2 separate regions of the Homo sapiens genome follow, and region 2 is linked to region 1. The links are contacts of gene promoters, found by promoter capture Hi-C in blood cells and fetal thymus (Javierre and others, 2016). All regions are on one chromosome and are shown on one strand. The core of a region is centred on a gene start or on the middle of the fragment in contact, and the rest is flanking DNA. Distances in the headings are between cores, read along the strand shown. Region 1 holds the start of RPL3 (ribosomal protein L3). Region 2 holds the start of RPS19BP1 (ribosomal protein S19 binding protein 1).

Region 1 (6,980 bases), core at 106-2,605:
AGATCCCAGCCCCTACCAGCCCAATGTTCCTGTGGCTGTCCTTTGGGTCAGTTCCTTTTGGGGTACTGCAGTGGTTTTACCTCAGCCACCTACACTTGCCCTAGTGACAAGCCTGCTTTTGAGAGAGCACAAGCTCTAAGTAAGAAAATGCATCACCGGGAGCGGTGGCTCACACCTGTAATCCCAGCACTTTGGGAGGCCGAGGCAGGTGGATCACCTGAGGTCAGGAGTTCAAAACCAGCCTGACCAACATGGAGAAACCCCGTCTCTACTAAAAATACAAAATTAGTAGGGCGTGGTGGCGCATGCCTGTAATCCCAGCTACTCAGGAGGCTGAGGCAGGAGAATAGCTTGAACCTAGAAAGTGGAGGTTGCAGTGAGCTGAGATAGGGCTATTGCACTCTAGCCTGGGCAACAAGAACGAAATTCTGTCTCTAAAAAAAAAAAAATGCATTTAAGCATAAAGCTTTCACTCAAGGACAGCCTGGCAATGTCCTGACAAAATTTCAACGGTGGACATGCACTCTCATCCGTGGTGGCCCTCACCACATGGGGTTGCACTCAGCACTTGAGATCAGCCAGGATAACCAGTAACAGGACAGCAAGAGGCACCCACTCTAACCAAGTCAATAAAAAGCCTGCTCAGCTCATCAACTAGGTTTCCAGGAGAGCAGCCAGTACCTCACAACCGACTTTCAGGCAGGCATTTCAGTGTTACTGGTGAGTCACCAGTTGAATTTTAAAGGGGAATGGTTCCCTTGCTAAGGGCCAGTAAGGACACAGTGCCCTCTGCTGGCAAGGGAGAAGCCTACCCATAAGCGTGCGGGCACGGGACCCCCATGATCACATAGGTCACTTCTACTAAGTGGCAGGCCAAGCCACCCCGGGGCACTGGGCTCACCTGGGTGTGGGCAATGACACGGATGACTTGGCAGTACTTCTTCATGCTGCTGAAGTCCTTCTCCAGCTGCTTCTTGCCATCCTCATCCTGCCATTTCTTGCAGTACTTGGTAAAGGCCTTCTTCTTAGATTTATGCCTTCAGGAGCAGAGCAGAGTTGGGGAGGGGACCAGGTGCAGGCCTTCATCACCCCTCCGAGGGGTGAGCGGAAGGCACACTGGCACCGCGTGGGGATGGAGCTCATTGCCGGCTTCTAAGGAGCCTTTTCCACCAGCAAGCGGAGCCTGGATGGAGCTCATCGGGCAGAGCCGAGCGGAGCTGAGCAGAGGTCCACAAGGTTAATTTAAGTTACACGCATTCAAACAAAATTCTTGCTCCGGGACAAACCTTTCTGCCCTGGGGAAGCCCACTCAGTGATGAAGGAAATGGGACATTCCACCCAGGGCCAGAGGCCCTTGCCACCCCTATAGGGGTTTAATTATTCTGCTACCTCTCCTGGTTTCTAGTTGGACTCCTCAACCAACTGGGTCCTCAGCCACCACCCACTAGCCTGGACTCAGAATGAGGGTGTTAGCTTCCGGCTGAAACCAGATGGCTGGCCAAGTCTGATCCCAGGTATTTTTCTGTTCGAGAGGCAAACTAAACCCAAGACAGCAGCTCCCTGCCTGCTACAGAGCTGAGAAACCATGCACACGCTGCTCCCTGCTCTCCAGCTCCCAAGCTCCCAAGCTAGGGACTGCATGGCCTCCTCCCTTACCAATTCTTATAGAAACGCCTCTTGCATTCATCACTGATGTGCTCAGCAAAGACAGTCTTGAAGGTCCGGAGGCCTCGAGGGGTTTCCACGTAGCCCACAATGCCCACAACCACCATGGGTGGTGTCTCTACAATGGTCACAGCCTCCACCACCTCCTTCTTGTTCACCTCTGCAAAAAAAAAGCAGTAGTCAGACTTGGCAGGAGCCCAAGCAAGGGGTGTAATGTTTTCTAGGAAAATGCAAAGTGCCCATTTAGGCCGGAAGGGCAACTGGGCCCCACACCTGCAGTACGGACTCACAGGGCTGTCCTTACTGCCTATCTCTCATTCAAAGCACATTTATGTTATTCAAACAAAAAATATCAGGACCCTAGACAGCCAAATACCTGTCCAGCTTCAATTCTCTTCTACAGAAACCTCTGGAGGCAGACAAGATTGCTATTTATCTGGAAAATTCAGTGCCCTAACAATAGCTCTGAGCTCAGAGATTAGTCAGTATCAACTGCCTAACATTAATGTCTCCATGGCTCAGCAACCAGTGCTGTTAGACATCTCTAAGTAGAACACACACAGGTAAGTGGCCATTATTCAAGCTTTCAGGTGAAAAAAACATGAATGAGGCAGTTCTTATGCCAGCCTCAGCAGCTCCAACCCCCCACACTAGTGTTAACTTCTCTTTGCTAAGGTTCCTGGCAAATTTACTATGCTCTGAAATCAATACCCCACACCGCACCTAAAGCAAACAGTGCTGACCATCTGTAGCCTTGGAATATTAGTTTTCAAGTTAAGCATTCCCATTCTGCTGTCGCAGCAGTTCTGACAACGTGTAACTCCTGCTTAAAAAAAAAAGTCTGCCCTCTGCTAACAGCTTGACTCCATCTCTACAATTTCCCTCCCCCTCCACTCCTATTCCCCCAACTTTTAGGATGTCTGTACATACTGGATCCCGGCCTGTCGACTTCCCGCACGATGTGAGTCATGCCAGCCTTGTATCCCAGGAAGGCTGTGAGGTGGACCGGCTTGGACGGGTCATCCTTAGGGAAGCTCTTCACCTTCCCACGATGCCTGCTGCTGCGCTTCCGAGGCAGGAAGCCGAGGGACCCATGTCTGGGAGCGGAGAACTTTCTGTGAGACTAGGTGGGAAAAAAATCACCGTCAGCACCCAAACCAAAGCAGTGCCCCCTTCTCTAGTTCCCAGCTGCTTAAGTTCCAAATCTCAGCAATACTGAAGAATCCTGACCAGACACCCAGCAAGCCGAATAAAAAGGTCATTATCTCTTCCAGGCTCGCACGTGTCAAGAATGCTTTTGTATTCGACAAAATTTAAGCTGAATCTTATTTCAAATCCTCTCAACCTGTAAGAAAACGACCCATTTTTTTTATCTAACCACACAAAAATACACTAAGTAGTGGCACTAAAAACTGCTTAACAGGCAGCTTTATATGCCAATTAGCAAGGTTTTGACCGCTAAAGAAAGGGACTCCCGGGACAAACGCTGGGTAGCAGCTAGCAATGTTAAGCTATAGGCTGCCTCCGGTGCCCGGACACTAATTACACTGATACACACAGGCCAAAGAACTCCGCAGAGCCAAATCAGAACGTGACAATCAGCACACAGTTTCTGTCCGCCCGTCAATAAGTTCATCATCTGTGGTTTCTGCGAGCTCCAGAGGCCTTCGGAGTGCACCAGCGGCCCCAGATATTCAGGAGGACTCCACAACACTCCCCTCCCCCAAGCTTCTTTACCTCCCAATGAGAACGGCGCCGAGAACCTCCACCCAAGGTCCTTCTACCCAGACAAGCAGGTTATGGGCCCTAATCCCAACTAATGATAGAATTGGTGAGGTCGAAACTTAGAAATGACTCATGGCTTTAAAAACGCCGGGCCTCCAAGCCTGCTCCCACCCTTACGGCCTCTCTCTGGCCGACCTGCAGGCCCAAAGCCAGTCCTCCAAGCGCTCTTCACAAGCCTCTCGACTTTCCAGAAAATAGGCCAGACTGAAGTCCCCGCTGGGTCGCCCGTGCCCCTAAAGCAAACCCCCGGCGCCGGCCAAGACGGGATGGCGGCGATGCGTCGCGGATTCAGCCGTGCCGACGCCGGTGACAATGAAACGGCCGCCATTACAACACATACCATCACGCCATCAAATCCCGCCGGTAGAGGCCGGTCGGCCTTACGGGTCCGCTATATAAAGCCAAATCTGGCCCCGCCCCTTCCGGCGTGCGAGCGCGCCCCCGCGGCAGACGACAGGTCGGGGGCACGTACCGAGCGCCATTTCCACGCACGCTCTTCCGCTCCTAGCTTTCGTTCAGAAGTTGACGTCAGCTTCGGAGACAGAAATTACACACTCTACGGCGAGGGGTCGGGTTCAAACTTAGTGAAAAGCCGCGGAGAGGTGGGCTAAGGGTGGGTGAGCCACAAATCTACGGCGTCCGGCAGCAGCCAAATTTGATAATAACGAAGAAAAATGGCTGCGTCGCTTCTCCTCCTGTGATATGCAGCTATCTCTGGAATTAGCGAAGAAAGACTGAAACTCTCGTTTCCTGGCTCCCACGCTGGTTTTGCGGCGACACCAATTTACCTTTAATACCTTTAATCTCGGGCATCCCTCCCTCAAGCCCTATCTCTGCCATTTCTCCCATGCTAATGCAGTGGCCCGCGCTTGATTCTGAGGGTCAGGAGCGTCCCAAGCCTGCGGAACGGCCTCACGACCTCTGGTCATGCCGAGTCCAGCTGCTCAGCCTCCCGGAGCCCCACGCCTTCCAGACCTATGCATCAGCGAGGGCTTTCGCTGATCTCTGCCTAGGCTCCAGGGTGACTCGGATCCTGACCGATTCCCTGCTTCCAGGCTGGTCCCTTACAAATCTCTTTTTTGAGACGGAGTCTCGCTCTGTCGCAGTGGCGCGATCTCAGCTCACTGCAAGCTCCGCCTACCGGTTCCCAGTTCAAGCAGTTCTCCTGCCTCAGCCTCCCGAGTAGCTGGGATTACAGGAATGCGCCACCATGCCTGGCTAATTTTTTTTTTTTTTTTTTTTGTATTTTTAGTGGAGACGGTGTTTCACCATGTTGGCCAGGCTGGTCTTGAACTCCTGATCTCGTGATCCGCCCGCCTCGGCCTCCCAAAGTGCTGGGATTACAGGTGTGAGCCACCGCGCCTGGCCCCCTACAAATCTTTCTAAGAATCAAGTATCTCGTTACTTTCCATGGCCGCCTCGTTGTTTCCTCGGAATTAAGCATCAACTTCAGCGGCCACCAAAGACGCTCCCCTAACCGTCTACTTCAGCCTCATGGCTGCGCCAGAGCACACGCTCTCATATCACCTGCTTCCTCTGTCCCACCCTGTCATCTTCTTTAATTCTGGGCCTGGCCTTTGCTCCCACCGTCGTTTGAAAAGCATTCTCTCGGCCAGGCGCGGTGGCTCACGCCTGTAATCCCAACACTTTGGGAGACCGAGGCGGGCGGATCACCTGAGGTCAGGAGTTCGAAACCAGCCTGGGCAACATGGCGAAACCCCGTCTCTATTAAAAATACAAAAATTAGCGGGGCACGATGGTGTGCGTCTGTAATCCCAGCTACTTGGGAGGCTGAGGCGGGAGAATCGTTTGAACCCGGGAGACGGAGTTTGCAGTGAGCTGAGATTGCGCCAGTGCAATCCAGCTCAAAAAAAAAAAAATTATCTCAATCCTCACACCATTCCCGAAGGACATAAGTGATAGATCTTCAATCCATTATTAGAAATCCTGGGGGCCACATATGTTTCAAAATTGAGCATTTTTTGATTTTTAGAAAGGTAATATGGTGCACATACTGTATATTATGTAATACAGCACTTTTTAAAGAAAAACAATATTCCGTAAGGAAACATGAATATTCACATGGAGTGGGACAAATATAAATAGACTCACATCAGTTCAAGGCTGACTTTGCTGCTCAAAAAATGCATCAGTTTACTTTTTGCTGCCAAATAATTTAAGAAGGTTTTTAAAATTTCAGGATACAGGCCAGGCACGGTGGCTCACACCTGTAATCCCATCACTTATGGGAGGCTGAGGAGGGTGGATCACTGGAGGTCAGGAACTTGAGACCAGCCTGGCCAACACAGTGAAACCCCGTTTCTCCTAAAAATACAAAAATTAGCAGTTGTTGTGCACGCCTGTAGTCCCAGCTACCCCGGAGGCCGAGGGAGGAGAATTGCTTGAATCCGGGAGGCAGAGGTTGCAGTGAGCCGAGATCGTGCCATTGTGCTCCAGCCTGGGTGACCAATCAGGATTCTGTCTCAAAAAAAAAAAAAAAAAAAAAACAAGACCAGGCGTGGTGGCTCATGCCTGTAATCCCAGCACTTTGGGAGGCCAAGGTGGGTGGTTCACCTGAGATCAGGAGTTCGAGACCAGCCTGGCCAACATGGTGAAACCCCGTCTCTACTAAAAATACAAAAATTAGCCAGGGGTGGTGGTGGGCGCCTGTAATCGCAGCTACTTGGGAGGCTGAGGCAAGAGAATTGCTTGAACCTGGGAGATGGAGGTTGCAGTAAGCCAAGATTGCACCATTGCACTCCAGCCTGGGTGAGAAAAGCAAAACTCCATCTCAAAAAAAAAAAAAAAAAAAAATTTCAGGATGCAGACAAAGGATTATAACCTACCCATATTGCCCCCCGCCCTTTTTTTTTTCCGATACGGAGTCTGGCTCTATCGCCCAGGCTGGAGTGCAGTGGCGCACAGTGGCACTATCTCGGCTCACTGCAAGCTCTGCCTCCCGGGTTCATGCCATTCTCCTGCCTCAGCCTCCCAACTATCTGGGACTACAGGCACCCGCCACCAGGCCCGGCTAATTTTTGGTATTTTTAGTAGAGACAGGGTTTCACTGTGTTATTCAGGATGGTCTTGATCTCCTGACCTCGTGATCCACCCGTCTCAGCCTCCCAAAGTGCTGGGATTACAGGTGTGAGCCACCGCGCCCAGCCTATTGCCCCGTTTTTACATAGAAAACTAAACTTCCAGCCAAGAGGTTAATAACTTGACAAAGTCACATAATTAGTGAAGGACAGAGCTCAAGTCTATCTGACTCCAGGTTGGTTTTTCACGGCATTAGACTCAGGGATCAATAATCCCCTTATCGGAAAAGGAGCTTTGGAATCCTGAGCAAGAAGAAATTCTTACTGGAGGCCTGCTCTGTGCCGGGTCCTGCACCAGGCTGCAGGAATATAGAGAACAAGATGGCCACTGTCACAGACCAAATAAGACAATTTAAAATTGTAATGAAGGTTCAAAAGAAAAGTGCCACTAAGGGTCCTGGGCAAACTATTCTCCCTCAAGAATTCCCTTTC
Region 2 (7,263 bases), core at 386-2,885, 220 kb after region 1:
AACCTGTGGTGGACACCAAGGCTGCGGACAAGCCCAAGGAGGTGTGTGCCTTTAGGAGCTTCCATCCAACAGGGGAGGTGGGTGAGCACCCAGGACACGACAGTGAGACAAGGGCTGGGACAGATGGGAATGACCTCTGGCACTCCACACTCCTGCTTCATGGCAAGTATCGCTGGGGCTCAAACCTGTCTCACTTTCCTGCCTCCAGACTTTGGCTTAAGTTGTATTTCCTCCTTGGAATTCATAATTCTTTTAACAAATACTTTAACATCTTTTATGCATTAGACTCTAGGGATTCAGACACAGTAAGAGCTTGCCACGTCCTGACACATGTCAAAATATCACCATCTTGCCTACACCAGCCCCTCCGAAAGTCTTTATGTCTATTAAGTGACACTACGTCCCCCAAGAAACTAGGCTCCACCTTCACAGCCAATTCACCACTAAAACCCCTCTAAAGGCTGAAATTCTCTGCTGCCCCCTCTTTAACATATTTTCCACCTGCACAATTCTCTTGTTATCTCTGCTGCTATAGCCACTGCCCAGGCCACAGCATGTCCTATTTCAATGGAGTAGGTAATAGCAGCACTCTGGAGACACAATGCCCGGGCAGCCACAATGCCTGTACCACCTGGGCAGGTGCCTTTTTCTGAATCTGTAAAACGGGGGTGATAGTAGTATCGACCTCAAAGGGCTGCTGTAAGGATCAAACGAGCTTACATTTGTACAGCACTTAGAATCAGCACCTGGTACAGAGTGTTAGTGAATGTGTTTAAATGCTCCATCTTTGATCCTCATTCACTAGGTCACCTTTACCAGCCTTTATTTTTTCAAATTCTCAAAGGCAACAACCTCCTTTCTGACTCAGGACCTTTGCACATACTATTCTTCCTAGAATATTCTCCTACTTTTCACCTAGCTCACTCTTATACATCCTTCAGCTCTCGGCTGAAATGTCGCTTCCTCAGAGAAGGCTGACTTGGCCTAAGTCCCCATCAGAGTACCGTAGTCTTTTAATTCATAGGCTTCAATGCACTTAGCAATGACACACTGGGTTTGATATTCTTTGATGCTTCTCTCCCCACTAGGGCCGTAGTCCACGAGGACCAGGACGGTGGCGTGTTCTGTCACCTTCGTATGTCCAGGGCCCCGCTCCGCGCCTGGCACACAGTAGGTCTAGCAATACCGGGCGAACGCTTCAAGCCCTGCCTCAAGCGCCACCTCCTCTGGGGCGCAGGTCCCAGCACCGGAGGCAGCACTTTCAGCCCCTTCCCGAACTTACCCAGTGCCGACTTGGGCACCTTTCCCTTGGCCGAGTTCCGCAGTTTCTGGGCCTGAATTGCCTTCGTCTTCCGGGGCCGTTTCACCGGAGCCCCTCTCGGCTTGGCCTGACCTGGAGGGTCCCGGGGGGCTGTAGGGGAAGAGAGAGGAAGAGACCCAGGTCAGAGGGCGCGCAGCGTTCCCATGCCACTGGGGCTAAGCCCGGCCTGGATTGTTTTCCATCCAGGGCTCCCGCCCGCAGCCACTACCATCCTCCTGCCCGCGCCGGACGTCCCCTGGCCAGCCCTCCTCACCCTCGGACGCCGCCAGCAGCTCCAGGCCCCGCCGCAGCAGGGCGGCGGACATGGCGGCGCTTGGCTCCGCCCACGAGCCTCACACTACTTCCGACCTGGCAGTCCCTGTCGTCTCGGCGGAAACCCGAGCCCGAACAGAGGGATCCGGAGGGGGATGGGCGGAAGTGCCCATCTTTCTTAGGACGCATGCGTTAGGGGTTTACACTTGAGCGGAAGAAGGGGCGGAAACTGGAGGCGGGTCCAAGGCGCAGAAAGACACATGTGTTACTCAATCCCAATCTACCTGGCTCCTGGCGCTCAGTCCCCTCCTTCCCCGGAAGCCGTCCGCAACCTGCTCCGCCGGGTTGGCCAATCCTCTCGGGTCTCGTGGCTCCGTGGCGGGCTAGGATGGGGACAGGGCGGAGTGTTTTTCATATACTTCAACCAGCACTAGGTATCGCACAGGTTGAGTGCAGCATGAGAATCCAGTTGTCTTCCCTTAAGCCAGACATTAAAGACATATCTTTGTTTTGAAAACTACAATTATTTCTCATAAAATACGTTGTTTATGTTACCAAGCAATGGGTTTATTGTCATTTTAAGTGAATTAATGAATATGTAAAATTTTTGTTTTAGTTTCTAGTATGGCAAATATCAGTTGCCTACATACAAAAGTTCTTTGGGATCCTGAATTTTTTAAAATTTATTTTATTTAATTAAATTAATTTTTTTTTTGAGACGGAATCTCGCTCTGTCGCCCAGGCTGGAGTGCAGCGATCTCGGCTCACTGCAACTTCCGCCTCCCGGGTTCAAGCGATTCTTTTGCCTTAGCCTCCCGAGTAACTGAGATTACAGACGCCCGCCACCACGGCCGGCTAATTTTCTTTTTAAAAAATTTTTAGTAGAGACGGGGTTTTGCCATGTTGGCCAGGCTGGTCTTGAACTCCGGACCTCAAGTGATCCGCCCACCTCAGCCTCCCAAAGTGCTGGGATTACAGGAGTGAGGGGATTCTGAAGTTTTAAATGTAAGAAGCTTCTTAGACCAAAACATTTGAGCCCCTCTGGCCTAGAAGTGACACTGCTTACCTGGGGGAGGAGCCCTGGGCTTGTTCGCTGCTCCATCTGCAGCTGGCAGCCCAGCACCTGGCATGGAGAAGACACGCAATAAGTGAACGGTGAATCAGAAGGGACCACTGGGTTCACTCAGCCGGGTTCTGAGGGCCTTCTGTGTACTTGACACCACAGAGTGTGGGACCTGGAGTTCGTCCTCCGGGATAGACCACACCGTTTAAGCTCCATCGGCTAGAGAGTAATAATAACAACCAACACAAACTCAAGCATTTGTGCTGTTCTACGTGCTTTACATTTGTTAACTTGTTTATCCCCCCTACCCTTCCAGGTAGGAATTGTCTTTTGCATTTTACAGACGAGGAAACAAACACAGAGAGGCGAAGGTCACACGGGTGGAGTCAGGGGTGGGAGTTAAGACTGGCAGCCTGGCCGCAGGATTTGTGGGGGCGCTCCTGTCCCAGCCACCAGGGAGAGCAGTGCTGTGGTGCTGGGTGGGGCCTGTCAAGCCATGGGGTCAGGTAGGCCCCTGGAGGGTGAGGAGGAGCTGACCATGTATGGGCAGCGGGGATTGTTCTAGGCGGAGACCGCTGTAGCGAGGACCTATCCCCTGTGACACACGAGTGGCCCTTCAGGATGCCATGCTGGGCTGGAGGGTCGCAAAGGCCTCAGACTCCATGATTTTGTCCTAAGGGGAGTGTGGGGCCTGGAACCCAGTGACTGTTCAGACATATGCCTCCTTCCTGCTTCTAACATAGCCGGATTGTTGTCTTACTTATTATGTGTATTGCGTATTGTCTGTTTCCCCGCCCATACCCCACTGTAAGCTCCGCAAGGCAGGGATCTTTGTTTTGTTCATTGTTATATCCCTAGCGCCTGGAACAGTGCTTGGCATACGGTAAGAGTTCAGAAACGCACGAAATGAGTGGATGAGAGCTGAGTTTGGGACGCCAGTGAGCCGCTGGGTTGAGGCCCAGGAGGTCGTGGGATGTGCAGCGAGTCAGCCTCTCAGGAGGGCAAAGGACCAAGCTCTGTCCTCCTCCCGATCTAGGCTGAATCAGCCCACGGTCCCCCGGGTGGAGGAGTTTTCTGCCAACGTGCCAGGTGGACCCCTGCAGCGTCCGCAGCCCAGCCGGGCACGGGCGGGACGGCAGGCCAGGCGCTGCCCCAGCCTCCCGCGGAGTTATCAGCACATCCGCGGGGCCGGGCGCATTTCTGCCAATAGGTGGCGCCGCAGGACAGCTTTCTCACGCGGCGAGACTCCAAGGCCTCAGCTGCGCCCACCCGGGCTAGGTGGGGGTGGGGGTCCGGACGTCCTTCTGCCTCGGCTGGCTCCTTGCAGCCAGCACCGTGTGGCCCCGGCTTCCTGCTGTCCCGCACCCCCTCCCACTCTCACCCTGGCCTGGAGGAGTGGCTGGGGAAGCTGAGGCAGAGCCACCAGGCTGGGCTGCCCAGGGCGGGGGGCGAGGTCCCTTCCTGAAAAGTGTGCAAATGACAGCTGGGAGCTGTGTGACCCCAGCAATCCCTTAACAAAGAGTGCCTCAGTTTCCTCATTGGTTGGATGGGGCTTGGCAGGGCAGCATCCCCCTTCTAGGAGAGGTGTGAGAACCGGTGGATCAATACCGTGCCGTGTGGGCCGGGCCTGGGTGGGTCTGCGCCCAGGGACTGCGTGTAGAGGGTGCTACAGCGCTGCCATGCTACCTGCTCCCTCTGGGCAAGACGGGATGGGCAGGGGCAGCCACTGTTGGGCCCAAGCAGATCACCCCACAGCCCGCATTTGGGCACCTGCGACCTGCCAGTCTTGACGTTGGCCCTGATGGGTCAAGCTGGGGGAGGGGGAGGGGGGTTGGGCAGCTGCTTCCTGTCTCCCTGTGGGAGGGCGGGTCATGAGGTCTCCCAGGCTAGTTCCCCACCTGGCATGACCCTGGATGAGCGGCTTCACTGCTCTGAGCCTGTTTCCACACTGGGTCCCTGCCTGCCCCTGATCCCCGCACTGAGGCTTTTGGCCACACAGAGGAACCATCGCCATAAAGGGCCCTTCGGCCCCCATGCCCTATGTCTCCTCCCAGGCTCCGTGAAACAGCTTAACTACCCTGGGCCTGGGAGGCTGAGAGGCAGGTGGCTTTCTGCAGGGCTGTGCAGCCCTTCAAGAACAGAGTCAGGACTCAAGCCCAGGTCTCCGGGTCCTAAGCAAGAGTATGTGTGTGGCCCCCAGGGACCAGTGGCCCCCTGGAGAGGGGACCGTAGGGTCTCTGGGAGGTGAGCAGTTCTGGAGAGGGTGTCCTGGTGGTCTGGGGCTGGCACAGATGCCCCGGTTTCCACAAGGCCTCGGCTCACACAGCTGTGTGTCCACAGGCAAGCCGCCCTCCCTCCCCTAGCCCATTTCCTCTTCCGAGGTTTTGGGGGCTTTAGAGAGTATTGTCCAGTCCTCCATACAGGGCCGAGGCGGGAGGCGCCCGGAGCTCCTGGCTCCTGTGGTATGAAGGGAGCACTTGCTCCAGAGCCAGGCTGTACATCCTGGCTTTTCCACTTACTAGCTGTGTGACTTTGGGCAAGTCCCACAACCTCTCTGTGCCTCGGTTTCTTCGTTTATGAGTTGACTATGATAATAATCCCTACCTCATAAGGCTGCTGTGAGGATCGAGGGTTGAGCATTTGGAATTCCGTTGGACGCAGAATAAGCACTCTAGTTTGTGAATCAGTGATTGCTCTGTGGACAGCAGTGTGCCGGTGGGACCTGGGCCCCCATCTGTGGGTGTGACCTGCACTTGTATGTCGCCTCTGGATTTCCACACTCTTGTGCTCACACACGGTTAGGTTGGAGGCCACAGGGAGTAACACCTGACAGCCTGGAGTCGCTGATTCCCGTTCAGACGCCGCCTTTGCCGCTTAGCAGATGTGTGACCTGGGCACCTACCTCACCTTTCTGAGCTTCGAGGGGGCGCTTGGGGTCTGTTGGAGGTGCAGTGAGGTGGCATGAAATGTGCTCAGCACCAGGCCTGGCATTTATTCATCTGTGCAGTCAATAAATACCTGCTGATACCACTGACGGAGCAGCCAATAGGAGAAAAACCAGCCAGCATTTGCTGAGCGTGAACCAGGAGCTGCTCCACGTGCAGGAGGCGGGCATTGGGGTGAATGAAGGGCTCCGTTGGGCCTGGCGGTGCCCACATGCTCGTGTTACACTCTCAGCAAGTGTGAGTCTCTGTCGTCCAGGGTCTGCAGGGTTCAGGGTGGCACCCACCAGTCCCAGGGACAGCAGCCCCCTCAGGGCATCCAGGCAGAGGCCAAGTGGCTTCTTTCCAATCATGTGAATGGTGAAATAGTGGCATGCCTGATTTTAAGGGTATAATGAAGACACAGAAGAAGCTACTGGAAATTATCCATGGAGATATGGGGTCAGCCAGTAACCCCCGGGTGGGGGTCAAAGGTGGGGTCTTTTTAATGTCTCCACCCTGACCAGCCAAAGATGCGGCTCTGCCATTAAGCTACTGTGTGAAGTTTTTTTTTTTTGTTTTTTTTTGTTTTTATTTTTTTTTTTTTGGAGAGCAAGTCTTGCTCTGTCCCCCAGGCTGCAGGGCAGTGGCGCGATCTTGGCTCACTACAACCTCCTTCTCCTGGGTTCAAGCGATTCTTCTGTCTCAGCCTCCCGAGTAGCTAGGATTACAGAGGCCCGCCGGTGTGCCTGGCTAATTTTTGTATTTTCAGTCGAGACAGGGTTTCACCATGTTGGCCAGGCTGGTCTCGAACTCCTGACCTTAGGTGATCTGCCTGCCTTGGCCTCCCAAAGTGTTGGGATTGCAGGCATGAGCCACCAGTGCCTGGCCTGCTGTGTGATCTTGGGTACATTCCTCCCAGTCCCTGGAGAAAGATGGGGCGGAGTCCCCAGTCCTGCCAGGTCCCCAGGGCCACTGAGATGTTAAGAGGTTACAGGAAGAGGAAAGGGTGAGCTTGGAAGACTGAGGGGAGAACTTGGGGGCCCCTTAGCAAGCAAGCACCCCTTCCTCAAGCCAACTTGTACCCAAAGACCTTACCAGTAGGTTGGGGTCAGATGGGAGGTCCTTAGGCAGAGCGGATGTCACCTGGCTCTGGGAACTTGACCTCGCTGTAAGATCTAGAATAAGTCCCTCCTCTATTCTGGGCTTTGCTATCCCCATCTGGGCAGTAGGGACAGACATAGCACTTTGTCGCAGAGAAAATATCCCTATAGGGCTTTGGGAGAGGAGGGCGTGGGGAGTGGGTGGTTCTGGGGCCTCAAGATCTCTGTGGTGGGGGTTCTGGCTCCCAAGGGGCTAGAATGGGGTTGGGGAGAGTTCTGTCCCTTCTAATCTCCGTCCTTTAATTCTAATTATGTCTCCATTAAAATGCAAATTTCCAACCAATACCCTTGGAAGGGAGGCCCTGTTGTCATAGCAACTGGCGTCTGTGGGGTGGTTGGGGAGAGGAGCAAGTCTCCATCTTCTGATCCTTCCAGACCAAGCTGGGGCCTGCCCAGAAGCCCCTTTCCTCCCCAGCTCAGAACTCTGAGCATCTCATCCACAGCTTGGGGGGCTCCTGCCCTGAGGCCATGTCTTCAGGGAAAGGGAGCTGGGTAACCATGCACAAATCATTTCTCCTTCTTGGCCTCAGTATCCCTATCTGT

What was found. The method cuts DNA at HindIII sites, captures the fragments that hold promoters and counts their contacts. A CHiCAGO score of 5 or more calls a contact.
Region 2: a contact is called between the fragment with the promoter of RPS19BP1 here and a fragment that was not itself captured in region 1, in 2 of 17 cell types (M1 macrophages and endothelial precursors). The highest score is 5.4, in M1 macrophages.

What each region holds. Positions count from the first base shown.
Region 1 is chr22:39,315,805-39,322,784 of GRCh38, forward strand. It overlaps RPL3 (ribosomal protein L3), which reads right to left and starts at 3,819. Exons shown (of 10, transcript NM_000967.4): 1 at 3,791-3,819; 2 at 2,596-2,788; 3 at 1,657-1,825; 4 at 902-1,037. The coding sequence starts at 3,793. It overlaps SNORD139 (small nucleolar RNA, C/D box 139), which reads right to left and starts at 1,092; the gene lies at 1,038-1,092. SNORD43 (small nucleolar RNA, C/D box 43) reads right to left here and starts at 3,309; the gene lies at 3,248-3,309. RefSeq lists enhancers at 585-634, 1,029-1,917, 1,545-1,624, 1,735-1,824, 2,808-3,697 and 4 more. The HindIII fragment of the contact is 1,782 bases long and covers 465-2,246 here.
Region 2 is chr22:39,531,113-39,538,375 of GRCh38, forward strand. RPS19BP1 (ribosomal protein S19 binding protein 1) reads right to left here and starts at 1,636. Exons shown (of 4, transcript NM_194326.4): 1 at 1,575-1,636; 2 at 1,283-1,411. The coding sequence starts at 1,626. RefSeq lists enhancers at 850-1,365, 1,366-1,881, 1,671-1,730, 1,781-1,830 and silencers at 1,091-1,220, 1,401-1,560, 3,632-3,926, 3,792-3,841, 3,902-3,991. The HindIII fragment of the contact is 8,920 bases long and covers 1-2,584 here.